Linked DNA regions of Homo sapiens: all the other regions are linked to region 1. Evidence: promoter capture Hi-C in 16 types of primary human blood cells and fetal thymus (Javierre and others, 2016). All regions are on one chromosome and are shown on one strand. The core of a region is centred on a gene start or on the middle of the fragment in contact, and the rest is flanking DNA. Distances in the headings are between cores, read along the strand shown.

Region 1 (4,076 bases), core at 1,490-3,989:
ACCCCCAAAGAAACCTTGTCTCTGTATATGAGCTAGTAAAATAATGGCATTTCACAACAAACGTCATCTCTCTTACTATCTCCCACTCCATAAGTTAGTGATTCTATAGGCATGGTCTGTAGCACCATTAGCATCATCTGGAACTAGTCAGAAATGCTAATTCTTGGGCCTTCACCCTAGACCTAGAGAATCAGAGACTCTGGCAGTATAGCCCAACAGTTTGAGATGTAACAAGCCCTCCAGATGATTCTGATCTGAGAACCACTGCCCTAAGATTAGGGAAGATGCTGCACCTGGGGTGGCTCAGGAGCCTGTGTGAACCCTTTTTAACTGAGTGATAATCTCACCTGTTCTTGCCTTCAATTGATACTGGCTTTTAATCTTCATAGACTGATTTCACAGATTAGGATTTGAGTCCTTAGTTCAAGGTCACTATTAGAGGTCAAGTCAGAGCTCCATTCCAGGATCTGCTGACTTCTTCATCAGCCTTGAGTTTCAAACTAAGGCCTTTCTGACCGTGCCAATTCTGGGGCCTAGGACTCTGAATGTTGATAAGGCCACCCCAGTCATCTCCTAATCTACATCATGCTGCCTTCCTCAGATAAATATGAGGACTGGAGCTCCAATTCTTAAAATCAAAAGAGATGGATTTGAGGATAGAGAAAGAAAAAGGGTAAACAGATGCTTCCAAAGGCCCAAGCAACTAAACCACTTGGTGAGGAGTGGACAGAGAGGAGAGAAGACCTAGATGTCTTGTTATAATTAAGAATTAGCTCATTCAAAACAACTGAGTAAAGAGCACAGAGACAATATCTAAGACCTGAATGGTGCTTTTAAAGTTTTCTTAGCTCTTTTCATTTTCATTATCTCATCTGAGTTTACAACAACCCTGCAATGGAGGGAGGTAAGGCCACGATTATCTCCGTTTGACAGAAGAGAAAACTTAAGTTCAGAGTGACTAATCATTTGTCCATCAGCACTGTCATCAGCTGTAAAGCTGAAACTTGACCTCAAGTCTGTCTGACTCTAGAACTGTGTAGTGTATCCACATTATGTGATTCGCACATCTAGAAATCGGCCCCAAAGCAGACTACCCTCAAGGAAAAAGCAAAGAGAAAAACAGGCAGCAGAATGGTGAGCCCCTAAATCCTGGCACTTGAGCAGTGTGAGGGTGTCCCTTTAAGAACGTAACACACAAACCCAACAGCCAAGGTGTTCAGCCAAAAAAGAAAAAAAGAGAGGCATATTTCTAGCCTGCATAATCATTTCTGGACCGATTCCCACTAGCAGCCTCTGAGACGAACAGCAGCTCACAGCCTCGGCTGAAGCTCCTCCACCCCCAGGGTGGCTCTGACTAGGGCGCAGCTCTGACTAGTGTGCAGGCAAAACCCCAAAACTCAAAACAAGAAGTGAAAAAAGTGGAGCCAGGAAAAATTCGTCGGCATCCTCCACAGCCTTACAATCCGCACAATGCCAGTTCCAGGGTCCTGGGGTCGCCCGGAAGGCAATCTTAGGAGAGGGTGGAATGAGATGGAAGTTCCTGCGGACCTACCGATCCTATTCTCTCCCACCCAGTCCCTAGGGAAGCGTAATAGGAAGGGGAGAAGGTTCGTTATGAAATCCTGGGGCCAGAACCAAGGGCAGATACACCCCGGGGACTTTCTCCTAAAGAACAAGATGTCTTTCCAAATTCTCCACCTGCAGGTCCTGTCCTCTGTGAAGATGAACGGGGTGGGGTGGTGAGGTGGCGGGGTGTTGTAAACCTGAGGAAAGGTTGGAGGGAAAATCAAGCCACCCACCTACTCCAGCCACGTTGCCCGGCGGTGTTGGTGAGGCTCGATGCCGGCGTGCACGGCAAGCGCGAATTCGGAACCTGGCGCCCTTGACCAAGCCTGAGATCGGAAAGGGGGCATCGCCCAGGGCCAGCGCCCTGGGGGCAGGGTGCCGTGCCCGCCAGAAAAGCTCGCCTCAGTTTTGGCAGTAATGATTTTCCTAGAAGATGCCAGAGTTCGCGAAGATCGGAGTGATTCGCGGATTTCTGCGCTCAAGCTAGAGGCGCAGCGACCCCGAGCTCCCCCACACTGGGAGCCTCGGGGCAGCATTCTCGGGGCCCATGCCATCGCGGGGACGGTGCGGAAAAAAAGGCTCCATCCTCAACTTTCTCGGAGGAAATCGCTCCGTTCTGCGGCTTGCCCAATACTGCCCGCACAACGGGTCCCAGGGTTGGAGAGAACCAGGGACACGAGTCCCTCTCTGCGCGCACAAAGCAGCTGCGCCGGGGCGCGCGGCCCCCTCTCCCGCCACCCGCCAACTTGGAAGAATCTCTCTGGGAGCCTGCCTACTCCCCTGGCCTCACAGCCACCCGCCTCGGACGGAGCGCCAGGCGCCCCAACAGCCGTGGCGGCTGCAACCGCATCTCCCGGGCTTGGCCTCCGCCCTGACCGCCTGGCTCCCCTCGCCCCGGTCCTACCGTGCAGCCTGGCTCGCGCCCCTGCCGTGCCAGTGCGCGGCACGCGTCCCAGAGCACGAGGCTCCTCCCCGGGGGGCTGCCCCGCGCGGGGCTCCGGGCTCCGGACAAGGCTTAGCCGGCCCGGGTGCTGGCTCGCCGCCGCTCGCGGCTCCCGCGCCGGCTCCTGCTGCCGCGCGCGAAAAGGGAGGGGTTGGGGGGAAACTCCCGGCAACTCCAACTCCGGGCGCTGGAGCTCCAGCTGCAGCCGCGCGCCCGCCCGCCGCCGAGTGCGAGCGCCTGCGAAGCAAACCTGCCCGCGCGGCCGCCTCTGAGCATGCTCAGTGCCGCCGTGGGCGAGCCCGAGCGCCCTGGCCCGGGGCAAAGAGCAGCGGCTAGGGGCTGGGGGCTGGGGGCCGGGACCCGCGACCCGCCCCAGGCCTCGGAGCGCGGAGGTGGCAGAGGAAGGGAAAGGCCAATGTAGGGGCGGGGGCCCTGAGCCAAAGACCCGGGAGAAACCGATCTGGGTGCAAGAGCCGGTGCGACTTTCACGGCTTGTGGGAAGTTTGTGGGCTAGAAAGGTGGGCTGCTTCTGTGAGCTTCTCTGTGAGACTATATTCGAAAGGACAACCAGGAAACATTTTTTTTTTTCTCTAGGAAAAAACGAATAGACCCAGCCGATGGGTTTTTATCCTGTGCGCTCCTTCCTTTATTCTTACGATAGCAAACTCAAAGATCTAATGGGGCCTGACAGGCACTGTAACTGGGGGAAGGCGAACTGGAGAGAGCTCCGAAGGCAGGGCCGCTTATCTGCTCTCAGGGTCCCTTGCTATCGGGCAAGAATTAGACCTAGTGTTGCTAGATTTTCTGATTTTTCCAGAAATGACGGAGTATATTCATGTACAATATCCTGATTTGTAAAATCTTGATAACAAATTCAATTTTCTCAAAACACCCTGGACTAAACAAAACATATCTGCGTCCCCTCCCTGCTGAACCCCCCAGACAGTGATTTGAGCATTGTGATTCTGCACTCTTTTAGCGAAGTGGTGCTGAGTGCTCACTGTGGTTTGGGAAAGTGCTGGAAAGGATCCAAGATGATTCAGAATATCTTCGAAGTACTACTAGTTACTAGGGGAAATGGGTTTTCCTGACAGTAGAGCGCTACACTTAAATGCTGGAGCGTTCAAGAAGAAAGACGTTACTAATGTAGAAAGCGGTTGTAAGAACTAACTTTTGGGAAACATCATTAGTAAAAGTATCTGTGTGGGGAGTCACTGCAGGGCCGATAACAGTGCCCCGGAAGGCACTTTTGAGCCTGAAGCAATAGGAAAAACCCCTAAACTTACCCTGTCTTTATTTAAAATTTTGTTATTTTTCATCATGCATTTTTGATATTAATTTTGATTTTTTTAAATATTCCATTAAAATATTAACCTTGATTACTGAATTCTTTGGTGAACCTTTAAGTGCTGTGACTCACCTCACCCTAGCCTGGCCCTGTTGGGGTGTTAGATGGTGGTACACAGACCTGCTTGTTTGGAGTGCAAGGGGTAAGCATTAGCATAGTGAAATAGGAAAGAGGGTTTGAGCTGTGGATGGGGGCTCAGGCAGAAGTCCTGACTGTCAG
Region 2 (4,000 bases), core at 589-3,088, 190 kb before region 1:
ATTAGTGCCAGTAGGAGATAAATGAGGTTTTGGTAAACATGTTTTTTTTTTTCCATATTGATAACCATCGATATGATTATCTGCACTCTGAACTTCGTACTTTGCTGATCAATGTTACCGGAGGTCACATTTTTTCAATATGCATTCTGTTAGATTCCTCTATTAAACATGATGAAAAGATTTATAATTTCCCATAAGAAAGGACTCTGTATCCGAAAGTTTTAATCACATAATTGAAATAGAGAAATAGCCTTCTTAAGAATGATTCAAACCACCACTACCACTACCAAGGTCAATCAGAGAGTCATCTTGTGAAAAGAATGCCTTTGCTCAGCATTGGACAATTCACTCACCCCATTAGGATCGATACCATTAACCTGGCGAAGCTGCTCGAGCATCCACTGTGATCTCCGAACAAATGATGTGGAGCCTTCAAACTGTTTGACCTTTGTGATGGACGCCTGTGTGGGTTTCTTGTTTGTCACTGCCAAGAAAAGATCACTCAGATTAGTGCACCTGCAAGTTGGTGGTTTGTTTCCACATTCAGTGCTGTTTCTACAGGACACCTACTGTGTATATGCACAATAACAGAGAGAAGGCAGAGGGGGAAAGGAGGGAATATGAATAAATATGTGTGCCTTTGGTCAGGGGTGAACGTAAAGGAAATAGATGTTACAATCTCCACTCTGAAGCAGTTTACAATATAATTATAATTGTAAGGGCTGCTTCATTTATGTGTTTATCCATTCAAACTGAAAATGACTTAAGTGAATAACACCAAGCACCTTCAATGGAGGCTATAAGTGCACAATTACAGCTTGCAGGAAAAGAAGCATATAGTACTGACAGGCATCAGGTAAGGTTCACTGGGAAAGGCTGAATTTGAAAGGAAATGAAGGTAATTGGCTCCCCTAGAGAACTGCAAGGTATATTTCTAGTTTTATAGTCCAGTGTAAACATCTTAGGCTTCAGTGATGAGGAGTAATCCCTAACTCAAAAAATCCCCAAACTATTTGGCTCTCTAATATTGTTCAGTTTGTATCTAGTTTGCATCTAATTATGATTGAATCTGGTGTTCTGGGCACACCTCCACACCTGTAGGAAAAGGACAATTTCTTCTCTCAGCCTCAGTGAGTTCTTCCCCTAAGCCTTTCTGTGCTAAAGATGGACAGCATCACCTCTCAGACTGAAGCCAAGCATCAGGCACCAGGAGAGGCACTCTGAATATTTCTACATCTGCCTACTTTGTGACATGGAGACTCAAGGGTAGGAAGTAATTAATTGTCTTTAAAGGGATTTCCTAAAAGCTTCTCCTGAACCCTGGCTATAGGAATTAGCAAATTAAATAGAAAGGAACTACAGAAAGTAGAAATCATTATTGGCTATATTGAAGATGATCCTAATTACTGACTTGCTGAAGACTATGCATCTGTGGCATATTCTTTGTTTCGAATCACCCCACAGATTCCACACTTTCGAATAACTATGTAGATGCTCAACAGATGGCAAAAAGAATTCTGAAGGGATGAAGTACAGAAAGCACCTACTCCAATCACAGTTGGTGAGCAGGGAGACTCTACAGTTCACGCATTCCATAGCTTATTGCAGTTTCATTGTCGGGGGCCATTAAAGCAGGAGAGCAGAGACAAAGGAAAGGTGGCCACTGTCCTTAGATCTAGTGAGAACCCTACTTTCCCAGCACTGAAAACCACCTTTATGGCCTGAGTACTATCTACTCTCTCTGCTTCCAACCAAAATTTAGTGAAGATTTGTTTTTAAGTTCAAATAATGTTTTGGTTTATCACCCATTATTTCAGTTATATTTGCTAAAAACTTCTGAATATTTCATACCAATTACATTTACTTTTATGATTAAGAAGTCATCATCCCCTTAACACCCACAATCAGATGAAATTTTATAGTCTTCTATTCACAAATAGGAACAACCATTCCCTCTAATTGAATTCAGGCAGTATTACCAGTCTGCCCAGGACTCTGTCTATCCATTTAATTCGATTCATTTATTTTTTGTGTCTCCTATGACACAAATGGGAGACCTAATAGGTTTCTCTGATGGCTGTGACCTGCTCTTACGTTTTAATGTTAAAGAAAACAATACACCTGGAATACAGGCAGGTCTTAAAATGTGCTTAAAAGATTAAAAAAGGCTTTTCAATAACAGGAAAACATGGGTTCCTGTATTAGACACACACCCCTAAATGCACAAAGAGAATTTCCTCCTGTGTTTATGTAAATCATACAACATTTAAGCCTGGGAAACATAAAGGCTTTCTTTCTAACTTTAAAGTTGTTATGAGCTCCTATTTTCACTTCTGGTCCATTTGCTTCCAAGTAATTTACAGCATTTTAAAAGCTTCAACACAACTCGAGATCACTGTATATTGCGGGCATGTTTTAAGATTCACATCTAAGGAAGGTAAGTTCCATTGAAAGTTTGTCATTGAAATGAGGCATGCAGGAACCCCAACTATTATGACAAATGACCCCATGGAATTCCTCCACAGTGATCACACTGCAGAGCAGTCATTTTTAATGGAGGCAGTTGCAACTCTATCCATTCCTGCCTTTCCTCCCCTATTAGTTTATTCCTTGCCCAGTTCTTGGAGTCTGGCTAGTTTTCCTGGGCACTGAGCCTGGTTGGTTTAATTTTTGTTTATTGTTATTATCTCCAGCATCCTAGTTTCTATTTTGAAGCAGGTGTCTTAAAATTATATTATTATATACACATCGTATAGAGTTAAATTAAGACTTTCCCCTTCTGAAATCAAAACACTTGCACACACACACACCATTGCCAGACTTTTTGAGTACATACTTGAGGAAAGCATGCTTTAACTATTTCATTGTTTTGTTGTTTTGGGAGTCAGTAGCTGATAAAAAATACGCCAGTCACACAAAATCCAGATGTCTAGTGAAAAACAGTGATTCACCTTCTCTTTCCAAAGGAAAGCTAATTGACAGTACACCCTGGAAAATGCAACCAAATTATCTGGATCAGTAATATCATAGAGCTGCATGCTAGAGACTCCCAAAGTCATTATTTTGAATGACTTTAAAGGTCAGGGGATTTCCGTTATGGCTTCAACATTCACAGGGAAGAGACCAACACAGAGGCATTTAAAGGAATAGGGTGGGTATGACTCCCAGGTAATACTGTAGACCACTCTGAAGCAGCCGATTCTCCGGCTTCCTGCACTGGTATCAGAGGCAGGCAGAAGCATGGGGGCAACCCAATTCAGGCCGCTTTGCTATTAGCTCTGAAAAAACAACATGGTTTTCATGGCTTCATGCCTCTTCTTTGGCTTTCATGTAGACTTGCTACTACCTTTCAGCTTTGGTTAAGAAGCAGTGACACAAACTATTATGTCCAGAATATCCAAAATATCACTGCCATCACTACTCCAGTGGAGTAACATCTCTGTCTCATGAACTAATGGTCTAAAGAGCTCTTTTTAAAAATGGCCCCTCCATGAGACACTTTATACAAACAAAATTCGAAAACTTGCTATACTCAAAGGGTGGAGACCACTGACCTTGCCTGTGCCCAATCAGAGAATTCTATTTAATTAAAAACCAATAAGCCAGCCAATAACAAAGACCATGTCATAACAAATTGGTCTTGCAACAAGTCAGGAAAGTAGAACTGGTAGAAGAGGGAACAAAGACCAATGAAGAAAGACAGAAAGACAAGTCACTTGCATGTTATGTGAAATGGGAGAAGAGCTCATATACCGCCAAGATTCAGAGGCAGATCCTCTGTTTCAAGGTCCAGTGGCTGAAAGACCACTTTTTCCAAAAAGCCACACTGTTACACCTACACTCTCATTATTCACAGCATAATCCCTCAACTATTCCAAAAAGGAAAACCAGTTTGGCCTAGGAGACAAATTATCTATTTAAAATAAATAGCCTTAAAATATTATTTTAAAGGAGACAATCAGTATATACCACCTGTACATCCTCAACTATCTCATATTTG
Region 3 (3,806 bases), core at 122-2,621, 210 kb before region 1:
TGGCCAATACGGTGAAACCCCATCTCTACTAAAAATACAAAAATTAGCCAGGCGTGGTGGCTCGCACCTGTAGTCCCAGCTATTCGGGAGGCTGAGGCAGAAGGATCGCTTGAACTCGGGAGATGGAGGTTGCAGTGAGCCGAGATCGCACCACTGCACTCCAGCCTGGGTGACAGATCGAGATCCCGTCTCAAAAAAAAAAGAGAAAAAAGAAAAAATGGCCAGTAACTTAAGGGCCCTTTCATGTCTTATTAAGCACCTAGAGGCTAATAATTCCTTTTAGAAATGTTCTGAGGGAGAGTGAGCAAGATTGAGCATAAACAGCTACATTCATAGACAACTCAACTGCCCTTCCTTATTTAATTCCTGCTACTTCTTATCGATTTGAAAATTTCTAAGAGATTTAAATTGTGATGCTTTCTATAGGCTGAGATTAAAAAGTCAACCAGGCTAAAGAATATGAAACAATAATAAAAAAAACCTAAACCATTAAAAAAGGTAAAAGAGAGCCCAGATCATAAAAAGTCCAACAGGCCATAAAATGAAGGCTGGAAACATTACAAAATCTCCCTTCTCAACTGGGAGCCTGGCCAAGCAACTACACGGGAGTTGAGTTCTGTGATTGTGAGTGAAAGTTGCATTGTCTGTCCCCGCCTGCCCTCCTTCTGTTCTGATCTCTAATTTTAGACATATCTGTGTTGACAGCATCCCTTAACAAAAAGATCAGCAGCAAGCTGTTCAAGTCCTAATCTGACATTTCCCACACGGAGAGAAAGGAATGGAATTCCTTTCTCTTTTGTGGATCTTTGCTCTGGGGTTGTAACTAGTAAGTTATCACAACTGGTTGGTACCAGCACATCACCAATTCATACAACACATGCTGTTCATTTACCTTAAAAAAGGACTAACCATAAGCAAAAGAGAATTTGGTTCATGATCTATAGATACATTATCCCATAGTCTCCTAATCAAAATTTAGAATATACAATTGAGCAACAGGACATTATACCCTACGTCTTGAAAAAAAATTTAGTCAAATTTGATTCTGTGTTTGAATAATCACATCTCTGAGGTGACTGTCCCTAAAAACCCAAAAAGTATGGTAATCTTGTATATTGTGTGACTTGTCATTCTTGAAAAAGAAAAGTACTAATAGCTAATATGTACTGTATTTACTCAGCGCCGGGCACTGTTCAAAGTTCAAAGTGCTCTGTGACAACTCATTTAATCCTCAAAACAACTTTGGGAGATAGGTACTATTATTATCCCTTCTTTACAAATGAGAAAACTGAGGGTCAGCTAAATAATTTGGCTGAAATCATAATGGTAGGCAATAAAAGATGTAGGATTTGAATTAGAATTCTTGCTACTGAATCTGTGTTCTTAACCACCGCTTTCTAGAGAGAAAGAGGACAAAGAAGGCAAGTCAGTTCTCAGCCCTGAGAATTCCACCTGGCTGATCTTTGTCATCAGTAAATATTTACTGACTCCTTATCATGTGATATGTTTTAGGTATATTACAGCTAGTGTTTTAGGCATGCCTAGTGTTTCAGGTATATTATGTTATTTAATCCTCCCCACAGTACTGTATGGGAGAACTACTACTCTATTTTACAAAAAACAAAAACCATGGCTTAGACAGGTTATAAATTGCCCAAGGATATACTTATGGTGAGTGATGGAACCACCTCTGCTGGTTCCTTTGGGATTATCATTGATTTGAAAATAAGGTGAACAGCTATTGGCAGGAGATTCATGGTACTGAGGAGGGAAGAGGACTACTTTCCAGGCTAGCTGGCATTCTCCTTATGATGCAGGGCTGTGTATGTGACAGAGGCCTCTTGAGCCTTTACTTTTCCTCAACAAGATGCGACCACAGGATTGCTTGGAATTCAGATTCTTTCCTCCACTTTAGCCCATCAACAGATTGATTCCTGACAACATGGCTTTGACAGTGTGATTCTTTGTTTAGCCTTCTTGCCTTGCTTGTCCCAGCACTGTGCCAATTTGGGCCCATTACTCCCAGAGCTTTCCTGGCTTCTGCTCCATTGTTCTAAAGAAGGGATTACTGACACACACTTTGGATCATTTCATTCTGAGGGCTTTAGGCTTTATCTGAGACTGCAGGTATGAGAGTTCTCTCTTGGGAATCTACCTTCACCTTTACTGCATTTGTCAACTCTTCCCCACATACAGGAGTTTGTAATTCGAGACAGACACTCATTTCATCAGAGATAGAGTTTGCCCTCATAAATTCTCTGAGCTGATTTTGGATAATTTTCAAGAAAAGAGGTGACTATCCTTTATATTCTATCATTTTAAAACTAGAAGTCTAACAAATGTAACTGCTTTTTTTTTTTTCCTGTCAAATTAATTCAGTAGCTATCCTTCTTGGAATGAACTTTAGCATGGATTAACTATCCATTGAACATACAGCATGTATTCCTTATTACTTTTGTTTAGAATTTTATCTCCAGTTATTTCAAGAAAACATTCCAAGTAATTTTAAAATAATCATTAAGACAATTAAGTTTGGCAGTGTATTTTTACCATGTTTGCAATCGTTACAGTTTCTTACACTCCACTCCTACCCTTTGGGTTCAGTGTGCTTCATGTTGAAGCACATCATTTAATACTTCTATCAGCAAGGGTCTAGAGGTGGTGAATAATCAGTCTTTGCTTTTCTGAATATATCTTTGTATTTCTCTTACATCTATATTACAGTCTAGCTGGATACAGAATTCTAGATTGACAGTTATTTCTGGAACTTTGAAGATATTAATGTATTGACTTTTGGCATCTCTTGTTGCTGGGAACAAGCCATCAGTTTATCCTTCCACAGTAGGAAAACTGTATTTTTAATAGCTTTTAATATTTTCCCTTTGTCCCAAGTGTTCTATTGCATTATGTTTTTCTCTAGGTAAAGCTTTATTTTCAAGTGTGGCACTTGGTGATATTCTCAATCTGAGTCTTCAATTCAGCAAGTTTTAGCCATCATCTTTTCAAATACTGGTTTTCTGCCATTCTTAAACCTTCTTTAAAAATTCCTATGAGATGAATGGTAGAGCATCTTGTTCTATCTTCCATGTACAACTCATCCTTTATATTCTTCATTGCTGTGTACTGTATTATGGGTGAATTTCTCATTAATACCTTATAGTTCATTAATTCTGTCTTTGACCCTGGCCAGTCTAGAGTTTATTCTATCAAATGAGTCTATTTCAGAGACTACATTTTTCATTTCCAGGATTATTTTTTTCTATCACTTTGTCTTTTCATTTTAGTTCCTGTGTTATAACATCTTAACGTTTTTTCTAATTTCTTCCTTTATCTTTTGAGTATCATAAATGTACTTAAAGTCATTATTGGAGTTCATTGTTACTTTCATTTCATTTGGGGTGAATTCAATTCTCATTTGTTATTTTTGTTGGCTTTCTCATGTAGAATTTTGGTGTGCACAATATTCTTCAGTGGGAGATTTAAATTTCTTCCTGCTTCTCCTCATTGCCTTGACCTTTTCTTTCTATGTAACAGTTTTATTATTTCCTGTGCTGGTCCCTGGTACAACAGGATTTAAAGTAATGGTCTGAGGCTCTTGTTCTGGGTAACATGTGGGATATGGCAGAGTCAGTCCCAGGCTAGTGGCCAGTTGGATCCAGGTCTTGGGTGGGAGACTATGTTTGTTTTCTCTTGCCTCTCTGGAACACAGGTTCTTATAAGCCACTTCCCTAAGGAGCAATTGGTCACAGCGTATTTGTAAACTCCTTTCTTGGGCTAAGAAGACTTGGTACCAAGCAGCAAATCTA
Region 4 (3,914 bases), core at 274-2,773, 160 kb before region 1:
ACTGCCAGAGCAGGTTTCTGAACTCTGGTCCTTGTGCTCTGGCATCCCATTGACAGCACTGAGTTGCAATCCTCCGGGCCATGCTGTTCCCACACTGGCTCCATCTGGCCTGCAGACCATGAGAGCTGCAATGGGCCATGTGGGAGAACATCAAATATGAGGCACATTACTAAGATGTTATCAAGCAGGAGCAGGGGCTTGGGCAGAAATGGGAGAGAGCCGAGTGGACCTTGCACGTTCTCAACTATCAATTACTGTAACTAGAACTCCCACAGCCCTGAAGAGGGAGCAGAATGAGCCTCATTTTCCACATTCCGCTGCTTTGAAGTGCTCTGCCAAGAGACATTCAGCAGGAGAGCCCAGGAATGGCACTCTCAACAGCCAGGCTGCAGAGGGGCTTGGGCTGTCTCTCCTGCAGGTATGGTGCACACAACCTGACCACTGTTTTCTAGGTGAGCTGTGGTAGTAGATCCCAGAGACTCAAATGCCCAGAGATAGTGACTGTCTAAAAATTATTGATTTTGATCTAATGATAGTAATATTTACAGAGAAACTAGCCTTTCGTATGAACAATACAGCTCTAATGACAAAAACAACAATAGCTAACACTTGGGATGTGAGTGCTTATCATGTGCCAGGACCTATTCAAAGTATTCTGCATATATTAACTTATTTAATCTTGGCCACAAACCTAAAGAACTTACCACTTAAATCCATTTTACACATGGAGAAACCAAGGTACACAAAAATTAAGGAATTTGCTCTAGACCACACAGCTAAGTTGCAGAACAGAGATCAGAGCTTTGGCTATCTGGCTTCAGGGTCTGTGTTCTTATTCGCCAAGCAGTGCTGTCTTGCTCAGTTGGGAAATTCCCAAGCACTTAAGAGTGTTAGGTAACAGGCAATATATATAAAAACAAAAAAGCCTCCATCTGTGCAAAATATGGGGTACTAATGTGGGACCTGTGACTTCCAATTATGACTAAAGTTTTGTGAATAATCCCTAACACAAATGCCTAACAAATAAAAATTAGGGCTACAGGGATACTCAATGGTCAGTTACTTCATTTTGTTGTCTTCAAATGGCAATAAAATATATGTACCTCCCATTAACATTTTCCAGAAATTCCCAAATTAGAAAACAGACTTCCTTAGTAACTGTAAGATCACAAATATCAATGCCTTTAAGGAACAGCTAGCTTTACAGTAAAATAATTCTAAGTCTGAACTTCAGTCTAGTCATTCCTCTTTTGGGTTAGTGGCATTTTATAAAAAGACCATATAACACAAAATGATAATTAAATATAAATAAGAATAAAAATCAGGACCAAGGATCATAGAAATAGGGTTATAGCATCAAATCAGGGAAAAGAAAAAAACATGTGTTATACAGGTTCTATGGTAAAAGTAGAATGGAAACAGATTAAGTCATGTTAGGGAATTTGAACATGGTTTTAGAAAATTAGGCAAGACTATTAAAATTCAGCTTGCATTTTAGAAATAAAAAAGTTTTTGCAGAGTTGAGGATTGCCTGAATGGAAATGGACAAAAAGACAAAGACCAATTTGGAAAGTATCTCAGGGTCTCATAAGAGAGAAGACGTAGGTCTGAAATAAACCAGTGTAAAATGATGAGGACTTAGGGACTCTCTTGAATGTAAAAGGTGAAAGAATTGGAAGTCCAAGTCTAATGCTAAGATATCTAGGTTGGGGAAAGTGATTAGAGGGTGATGTAGTAAACCATGTAGGAATATACAAGGGGATGCCAGGAGGTGCTGTATTGGCCTGGATTTAGGTCAGGTGGAAATATTTACTAGACAACCAGGACAGCGTGGACTAGAGATAGTGTAGTTAACTGGGGGAGAACCAGGAAAGGTCAGTGTCCCCCAGACAGGAAACTTAATGCTGATGAGAAGAGCCCTAAGCAGATTCCATATCCCCCAATCCATAGAACACAGCATTTTCTTTTGGCTATATTTATCACCTGAGAGTTTGCTTTGCTCACATGTGTTTGCTTTATGGGGTACTTACCACATCTCACAACTCTGCTCACATCTGCATTAACTTTTCTCTATAGACAATGGGGCAGGGACAGAATACCCCTCTCTACCAGCCTAAGGAACTCTTGCATTGTGTACAAAGTGGTAGCTAGCAGACGAAAGGCTCATGGAGACCGTGGCTTCCCAATTGCACAACTTCCCTGAATCTTTATTTTAAAAGTTTTCCATTCTAACTCTTCTCCTTATTTCTCTCTCTCTTTTTTTTTTTTTAATGCTCAGGAAAATTTCTCTAGCTCCTTCCATATCATATCCCACTGGTTTTATGATATTTGCCTTGAGCTTGTCTGGCTATTTTTCTTTCTCGTGTGTTAGTACTAACCTCTAAAATGAGATTTTTTTCTAAGCGAATAAGCCCAAGTCAATATCTCTATTTTTATCTCAAACACTAACCATGGTCCACGTGTTAAGCTACTAAATGTTCCCAAGAACTGTTTTTCTCACAGAAATCAGTCTAATTTATAGTTGGCCAAAATAGTGGTATTTTCCAATATCAGCAGCAAAGGAGCAAGGCACAGAACACAAAAGTGTCCAGATTTTTTTCATTGTGAAATGACCATTTGATTGACTGTAGCCAGGAAATAAAAACCACGAGGAATTCCAACATGTTAACACTGTTTATCCCTGCCTAATTGTACCATTAAGGAAAAGAGATTTAAATGCAATGTGCTTACATTCTATCTAGAGGGCCCATTCTTCAGTTCTGACTTCAACAACAGGACTAGGTTTACTGGCATTCATGTCCAGTGAAAGGAAGGCGGTTAGGAGGAGTCGCAATAACTTTCTCTTCTGTTAAGAGCTCCCGTAGCACTCAGCCACTCCTGGTGGTGTATCCTTGTGTTGGGTAAGCTACCCATATGCCAAATGCTTTCTAGTAGAGGTCCAGACACATACAGGATTGAGGTCAGAGTCATTCACAGACATTCGAAGATATGAATAAAAAAACAAATCCTCTCAAATACGCAGAAGATAGGGTAGGGCTTCCATTATAATAGTAAGTCAGAACACTAAATGTTAAAAGTGGTAGCTGGAGCAATATCAGAGCATAGGCTCTGCAGGCAGCTCACCTGGGCTGACATCCCTCCCTTCCTTCATTAGTTGTGTTATCACGAACACGCTGCCTAACCTCTCTGAGCATGAGGTCCTCACCAGTAACAGGCAAAAATTATACTTCCTCTTTGGGTTGTCTTGAGGAGTAAACGAGATAGTTTATGTAAAGTGATTAACACAGTACCAGCACACAGAACTCACTGAACAGTAGTTACATTAATTATTGTGTTTGTCAAAATCATTATTAGACACCAAAAAGAAGAGTGTGGGGTGTCTTTGGAGGGGCTGGAGTACGGGCTACAAGAAGGATCTCTCCAAGCTCAGAAACCTAAATACAGCATAGGCAGCAGCATTTCTGACATGAATGTCCTAGAAAGAGGATGATTTCTTCAGCCTTCCAGATGAATTCTTCGGCTTTCAAAAGTCCACGATCTAGTGTGGTCCCAGGATGTGTGTTCACCTGCCAGCCTGTTGGCACTTAGCCATTTTTGCACTGGCTGTGGCTCTTTCCCACAATGATATTACTAATGACATGACAGACTCAAGTTTTGCTCTACTAAGAAACATATATATATATGCCACAATTCAATTTTAGGCTCTGATTCTGGAGTCCTGGGGTGTAGCTCCTTATTTCAAGAACAGAACCCGCTGTCAGCTTCCTCCTATTCAAGGAGGGTTTAAACAATCAGAGATTTGCTAATATGCAGTTACCTGGGTCCCACTCAAACCTACTGAAAATGAGTCTCTTGAGAAAGAGAGAGGAACCCAGGAATCTGCATTATAACAAGCAGCATTGCATGCATATTAA
Region 5 (3,589 bases), core at 80-2,579, 170 kb before region 1:
CCGACGGGTACAGACTTTATTATGCTATAGGGTCCATCCCACCCATGCCGTCTCAGCCACTATCCTTGAAAGGCTCTGGAGAAACACAGCCAGAATCCAAATCGCTCCCAAATGTAAACAAGCTTTGTTCACCAAAGCATAAAGCCAAGCAGAAAGCTAGGATGGTCCATGTATTGTCACAGGTAGAAGGTCATTTTAATTCAAAGAGTAAAGCTAATTAAGTGACTATTTTTCAGATATGAGAAAAAAGTTGTTTGCTGAGACAACAAAGTAGAAGGAAATTTATGTGAGAATCCATAACATGTTTCCTGCTGGGGGTCTTAGACAAGGTCCCTTTGCAGGGGTCCCAGCACTACACGGTGGCTCTTTCAAAGAATTACACATCGACCGGCTGTCTCCTGAGAGGATGGGGATGCTCCTTCCTGACTCCCTGTGAGTGGGAACACGCTCATTAAAATGGCTCTCCAGTGGAAGCCAGTGTTTCTGCTATCAAATCACCCTATCATTCCTCGCCTGCTCCATCATGGGCCAAAACAGCACAGGATTTGGCCTAGAAACTAAGCAATCCCTTCTGCAAAGGAAGCTGCTCTACATGGAGAATGAACCTTGTACCCATTAGCACTGACTGCAGCTAACTGAATAACAGCAGCAGCTCTAACAGGGAGGAAGCATCGGAGAGAAAGCCCTGGACCGGGAGTCAGGAGGCTGGGGGTCCTGTGCCCATTCTGCCTACCTGTCCATGGACATTACATGTGTCTTTTCCTATCTGGGTCTCAAAAACACCAGATGAGAAAGACCCTAAGAGCGCCCTCACAATTCTATGAGTCACAGAAGTGCATGCTGCCCACTGTGATGCCCCTTCTCTCAAGCCTGGAGATCTCACTGATAAAATGAGAAACAGAATACCACTTTATAGATAAAAATAGTATGATTGATCTTTACATAAAAGCTGAAAATGTATAATGTCTATTCATTTTAAACGTCCAACACACAAAGAATCTTCAACTCTTTATGTCCAGGCATTGTTTTAGGACTCATTTGAGATTCTTAAAAAGATTGTTGGATGAACTGTTGGGGTGGGGTAGCAAGGGGAGGACTCTTGGCAGGAAGGAGCTTCATGCTATGAGAAATCTATTCTGTTGAAAGTGGAAAGATGTTATGCTCATAACTTTCCTAAATTCCCCTGGAGGGAATCATAGCCGAATATGAGACATTTATGTAAATTTTCTATTTCACTTAAGAGGAATTTAAACTGCCAACACTTGAATCATAAAGCAGTGTGACTATTCTTCTGGAAAAATCTGAAGGCACAAATAACATTCATCAAAAAATATTTACTGTGTGCATACTGAAGGAAAAGTGACACAAGGGGTAAGGGTGGCGGGAGGGGAAATGAGTTGAGGGGTGGAAATAGGTACAAGGTGATTGAAGTGCAGTCATATTCATCAGGGGGTTCACATTTCAGAAGAGAAATGACAAGTTCCTAAGCGTTGAAATAGTGGCAGGATATGATAAATACGGCACTGTGTATTTATTATCATCACAAGTGTATAACACCAAACAGAGTGGAGGGGTGGGGTGAGAGGTGGGTTTTTGGTGGATGCAGGACAGCTTCTTTATGAAAGCAGTGTCATTTGTGCTGTGGGTGGAAGGCTGATAAGGATCAAGGAAAAGAGAAGCAAGGCAGATCTCATTTAACTCTGAAACTACCCTTGTGCTTCCATAACTAAAAAGAGGAACCCTACTAACCGGGAAGGCCTGCCTTACAGGTACAGAAATAAAGCCAGCCAGAGAGCAGCTGATTTCTTTTAGATTGCCTTGACCTGGGATGAATCTTAAGGCAACTCATATCCTGGCCAAGAATTCTGGATACTCTATGCTCAAACTTAATGTTTAGGAAGTAATCTTGTTAAATACATATTTATATTGAAAAGCAGAACTCCAAACTTCCTCATCTTGTTTCCTGGCCTCAACACAAAGGCACTATTATTTTCTTGAAAAGGAAATTATTCCAGTGCCCCTGCCCAGGCTCTGACAACACATGTTTGCCCTCAATCTCCTTCCTCTTCTTGCAAGGACACCCATAGTTATAACTCACATTAGTATGGGGCAGCACAAGGGGTTTGACATAGAAGCAGCAATGATGTACTTGTGTTTCTGCTTAAACTGTGGAAACGATGTTCCTGAGAGAGAACACTGAGAATCTTACTTCCCTTGAGATACGCTATCCATTAGCAATTCAGCTGCAGGGCAAGGTTCACTTAATTTTAAAATGTAAGTCAAGAGCCTAAAATTGGTAATTGGGCATTTAATTGGGTCTGCGAAGGCACTTACTGGATTTTAACAGCTTCAACTGGTAATGTTTAAGAACATTAAAAATTAGAGCAATGATGAATCAGATGCAAATGGAAAGTGAATGAATTTTGGCACTATAATTTAACACACAGTTAAGTAGTGTTTTGAGCTGAAGATGTTAAGCCTGGTTGGTTTTCTTAAATTTTCTTATATGCCAGGGATTATCAAAATATTTCACTCTTTAAGCTTGGCTTCCCTTCTCATAAAACTCTACTTTGAAGAGTTCAATTCAGCAGGTATATATTTGGCCTAATTGCAATCAGTATTGCTTAAGCTTATAGGGAATGCTAAGAAGTATGAGCTTTATTAATATAGCGTGGTTAAACAAAACAAAGAACATCTGTGAACATATTAGAAATCTGGTCACTCACTGGGGCATCCAGAAGACATTGGCTGGACATCTGCTAATTGAATACAATGGCTCTTTTATGATGGTCTGTACTCAAAGACCTCAAAACCATTTTATAAATGCTGCCAGTGCTTGCTGACTACTTGTTCTTTTTAAAATTTTATTTTAAACATGCAATACATTTTCACACAATCAAAAAATAACATATTGAGACATCTTACTCCCATCTCTGTGTCCATCTACTCCTTTCCATTCCTCTTCCCCTGCCTTCCTGTATACCTTTAGATAATTTCTTTACATGGAAATAACAATAAACAGTCTCATTTCCTCCCTTTCTTACACAAAAGGTAGCATATTATATACATATTCTTTCCTTCCTTCCTCCCTCCTTCCCTCTTTTCCTTATTATTTTATCTCGGAACTCCTCAAGATTCGTGGAAAAAATCTAAATTCACAGCAAACTTCTTCCTACTTTGTATAGCTGCATAACATTAACTCCATTCTAAGGATGAAACATGAACTACTTAACCAGTCCCCCACTGATGGATAGTGAGTTGTTTCTAATCTTTTACTATTGCAAACAATGCTGCATAAATAATTTTGCAAGTATGTTTTGAGAATAAAGTTCCAGAAGTGGATTGGATTACACACTTAAAGAGCAAATGTACTTGTAATTTTAATAAATATTACCACTGGCCTTCTATAAGCAATGTAACATCTTGCACTCCCACCAGAAATCTATATCTATTTCCTCATATACATGCCAAAACAGTGTGTAGTCAAGCTATGCTTTTTGCCAATTTGAGAGATGAGAAATTATATCTCAGTGTAGTTTTAACTTGCATTTGTCTTATTATTGGTGAGGTCCATTTGTATTTAGTGAAT
Region 6 (3,579 bases), core at 909-3,408, 140 kb before region 1:
GCTGCAGCAAGCCATGTTTGTGCTACTGCACTCCAGCCTGGACAATAGAACAAGACCCTGCCTCAAAGAAGGAACGAAGGAAGGGAAAGAAGGGAAAGAAAGAAGAGAGAGAGAGAGAGAGAAAGGAAAGAAAGGAAAGGAAGAAGAAGGAAAGGAAGGAAAGAAAGAAACCAAGCAGGAGGATGTCCAAAGAAAGAAATCAAGCAGGAGGATGTCCAAAGAAAGAAAGAAAGAAAGAAAGAAACCAAGCAGGACGATGTCTCCACTATAGATACCAGCTTCTCAAAGTTGGAAAGCACCTTGGCAGTCATCCAGACCAATTTATATCTAACGCCTGAGTGTCCTCTCTAACAGCCCAACAGTCAGTCATTTGCCTGGCAGTGCTGCTTGGCAATTCCTTTACACAACCACAGTGAATGCCTCATTCCATTTCTCAGAGTGTTCCAAACCTTTATTCTATTATCACCCTTTTCCCAGCAGCCACATCTGCAGCAGAGCACATAGCTTAGAAAAACCAGAAGAGTTCTTTGGTTCCTCCTTGTCTTCCCTCAAATATGCACGTGCACATTTGTGTACATGTTTACAAACCCTTTTTTAAATTGAAATCAGCCTCTCTGTTGTCTTCTACCCATGAGTCTGTGTGTTCTCCAGTCACGGAGAGTTACTCAACTTTCTTGTCCACATGGCAGCACTCCAAATATTGTAAGACAGCAAGTGTGGTATTTTGAGTCTTTTCCATTTAAATATTACCACTGTATTCAACTTGTGCAATGGAAAGAGAGAAACTAACATAACCACCAAGGGTGGGCAGTATCTGTTTGGCATGAGAGTCCCATCAAGCTAGTATTGTACATAAGTAACTCTATTTTTCTATGTACCCAATCTGAACAAGGAATTCGTAGAAGTAAATAATTTTTTAACTACTTGAGGTCTGAGTTAGAATTTAGTGTGATTATTTTCTTATAGCCTTTAAAGCAGCCTCTTCCTTTCAATTTTAAGCAAAACCAAGGTCCTAGACTAGCTTTTCAATCAAATAATTCAAGATTTTAAGAACTAAGTTAAAATATAAAAGGTATCTTGAATGGATGTTACTGAAAATCACCTGATAATAATGTTTGGTATTGTGACAGGGAAAGGTGGCTGGGTAAGGTTTATAGAAAGTGAATGCCAAAAAAAAAAAAAAAAAAGTGAAATGCAGCAACCAGTGTTTGCCAAATAATTGTTAAAATCTTCTATAACAATTTAACAACGTATAGGAATTTGCAATTAGATCTATCCATTTAAAAATCATACAGCCTTACTTTAAGTGCATACTTAATCTAAGGTTTAAATAACAATTTATTAAAAGAATAAGGTGACCAGGAGTGGCAAGAGGTACAAGTGAGTAAATGTGAGTACACTTGATTAATGCTGCTCAAAGTGTGGCCCTCAGACCATGCTATCTGGTGCTGTTCTGCAATAAGAAAAAAATTGCTATAAGGTACTTAGAAGCTTTATAGAACATGGACAGAGTAACTTCATGTCAGTTGAATATAACACTACTTTTTAAAAAAATGTGGACTTGCCTTTTTTTCATTTTTCTAGCAATTTATTTTTATCCTATTTTACTAAAACACTGGTCTAAATAGATTGAAAATTTAAAAACAGGAACTCCACCACAGGTATTTTCAGAAGCCAGCACTAGGTTAACTGGGATTTAACCTATTTTTCTTACTTACATAATTATTCTTTGCAATCCTGAGTTATGAGCCCAATCTTAATGCTGCAAACACCTACCCTGCCAGGAGACGGGTATAATTACAGGGTAATTCACAGACTCATCAAATGGTATGAAACTCAAATTATCTTAAAGGATGCTGAAAAGGAAACCTCCACTGAGGGGATTCCAACAAAAAGTAGCAGCTCAATAGTTATGGTCACACATTCCTTCACTGGCCAAACAGGAATGATTCCTTCTTTGCTGAGAAACCACAGTCCTGGAGATGAGGACCAGTTAATAAGGAATGGGTCATCTGCTATAGTTAACAGGAATGTATTATATAGTTTTAAATAGCTAGAAGGAGGATACTGAATGTTCCTAACACAAAGAAATGATAAATGTTTGATATAAAGGGTATGCTAATTGTTCTGATCTGATCACTATATATAATATGTATCAAAACATCACCATGCATCCCTTGAATATGTACATTATTTGTCAACCACAAAAATTAAATTAACAATACAACAACAACAACAACAACAAAGAATGGGTCATATTGTATGTGTCCGAGGCTACTTTGAGAAGAAAACATCTGCAATCTCTTTTAGAACCCCAGCTCAGATGTATGCTGAGAAGAGGAAAATCTGTAAGACAATTAGACATCACTAAAAGTTTTTAAATAGTCAATTTGAAAAGTGAATTTGCTTTGCTATAGTATATAATTTCCATGTTTAACCTTGTGTCTTAAAGACACTAATTAAAAACAATGAGAGATAAAATCTTTATAGTCTTTGGAAAAACCCTGCTACTATCTTGGTTCACATTTTACCACCAAGGAAGTGGAAATGGAATAAAGTGGTCCCCAGAACAGGGGGAAATATTGTCTCTTCTCAAGGAAGCATTGTGGATGTGGGGAAGGATTCAAGACACATTACAGCTGATAGGCAGTTTGGCCTTTCCCTTTCATCTCCTGAGCCTTGTTTTAGATGTCAATGTGTCATTCTCCAGCAACTCAGGCTTAGCGGGATTTACTGAGCCTTAAATTATGCATCATCTTTCACTGTCATTTGGTAACAGATACTAAAGCTGGTATCAGAAAGTATGCCACTGTGATGCAAGAAATAAAGCTTTTTAAAATTAATTTCTCATGGATTTTATCTTACAGGTACCTTAATTCCTAGCAGCTGAGGTTGACATATTTCTAATTAATCATCTGTCATCCCGAGACTATCTTCCAAGTTTTGGTCACAAGATATATTTTAAAACTGTCCTTGGCTCTTCCCTTATTTTTCAGTATGACAGATTAGTACTACTTTCTTATTAATATGCCTGACACCATTTTATATACTCTCAATCACAAGATTGAGATATGATATTTGCATCTTAACAGGATAGTCAAATGCTTGGCTTTTTATTTTACTTTTTTTAAAAATGAATTTCAAAATACTGGCTACTGTAATAATTTATTATACTGCCCTTAATTAGTCAAAGGACGAAAAATCTATAAACTTGTGACAATAACAAATTTTCAAAGACAGGCTGGTTGCATTATCCTCCCCCTTCCTAAATAAAATATCCATTTCCCCTTTTTCCTCATTTAAAAGAACATATGCAACTATCCTGAATGCCAGGGCCGCAGCCCCTCACAGGCCTGACACAACTCTGCTGGCTCCCTGTTACAGCTGTCTATTTTTTCCCTAAGCTATCCGTTGTCATGAAGACTTCCTTTTTTTAACTTTTGCATTTAAGATGCACATCAGAAAAATGGCTTGTGCATAATTCTTTGATGGAGATTTATGATCTTGATCAAACGATGAATCAAGATTTATGAGCTTGCTTGATAGCATTTGAGTATTTCACTCATACATTTCCAAAGG

What was found. Contacts are between HindIII fragments. The CHiCAGO score rates a contact against its expected background, and 5 or more counts as called.
Region 2: a fragment that was not itself captured here is called in contact with the fragment with the promoter of STXBP6 in region 1 in 6 of 17 cell types (erythroblasts, M1 macrophages, M2 macrophages and 3 more); the score reaches 9.8 in erythroblasts.
Region 3: a contact is called between a fragment that was not itself captured here and the fragment with the promoter of STXBP6 in region 1, in 5 of 17 cell types (M2 macrophages, M0 macrophages, monocytes and 2 more). The highest score is 11.1, in M2 macrophages.
Region 4: a contact is called between a fragment that was not itself captured here and the fragment with the promoter of STXBP6 in region 1, in 4 of 17 cell types (M1 macrophages, M0 macrophages, M2 macrophages and 1 more). The highest score is 8.0, in M1 macrophages.
Region 5: a fragment that was not itself captured here is called in contact with the fragment with the promoter of STXBP6 in region 1 in 7 of 17 cell types (M2 macrophages, M1 macrophages, M0 macrophages and 4 more); the score reaches 10.7 in M2 macrophages.
Region 6: a fragment that was not itself captured here is called in contact with the fragment with the promoter of STXBP6 in region 1 in 6 of 17 cell types (M1 macrophages, M0 macrophages, M2 macrophages and 3 more); the score reaches 7.0 in M1 macrophages.

Annotation. Positions count from the first base shown.
Region 1 is chr14:25,047,408-25,051,483 of GRCh38, forward strand. It overlaps STXBP6 (syntaxin binding protein 6), which reads right to left and starts at 2,740. Exons shown (of 6, transcript NM_001394410.1): 1 at 2,471-2,740. LOC124903295 (a long non-coding RNA gene) reads left to right here and starts at 2,937. Exons shown (of 2, transcript XR_007064091.1): 1 at 2,937-3,027. The HindIII fragment of the contact is 7,485 bases long and covers 1-4,076 here.
Region 2 is chr14:24,856,674-24,860,673 of GRCh38, forward strand. STXBP6 (syntaxin binding protein 6) reads right to left here. Exons shown (of 6, transcript NM_001394410.1): 3 at 354-484. Among named protein-coding and RNA genes, the nearest start is that of STXBP6, 190 kb to the right of the region's middle. The HindIII fragment of the contact is 1,067 bases long and covers 1,306-2,372 here.
Region 3 is chr14:24,838,492-24,842,297 of GRCh38, forward strand. All of the region lies in intron 4 of STXBP6 (syntaxin binding protein 6), which reads right to left. Among named protein-coding and RNA genes, the nearest start is that of GZMB, 210 kb to the left of the region's middle. The HindIII fragment of the contact is 3,105 bases long and covers 1-2,924 here.
Region 4 is chr14:24,892,636-24,896,549 of GRCh38, forward strand. All of the region lies in intron 2 of STXBP6 (syntaxin binding protein 6), which reads right to left. Among named protein-coding and RNA genes, the nearest start is that of STXBP6, 160 kb to the right of the region's middle. The HindIII fragment of the contact is 4,896 bases long and covers 1-3,914 here.
Region 5 is chr14:24,874,440-24,878,028 of GRCh38, forward strand. All of the region lies in intron 2 of STXBP6 (syntaxin binding protein 6), which reads right to left. Among named protein-coding and RNA genes, the nearest start is that of STXBP6, 170 kb to the right of the region's middle. RefSeq lists a silencer at 444-738. The HindIII fragment of the contact is 2,419 bases long and covers 121-2,539 here.
Region 6 is chr14:24,911,273-24,914,851 of GRCh38, forward strand. The region is part of intron 2 of STXBP6 (syntaxin binding protein 6); the gene reads right to left. Among named protein-coding and RNA genes, the nearest start is that of STXBP6, 140 kb to the right of the region's middle. The HindIII fragment of the contact is 1,338 bases long and covers 1,490-2,827 here.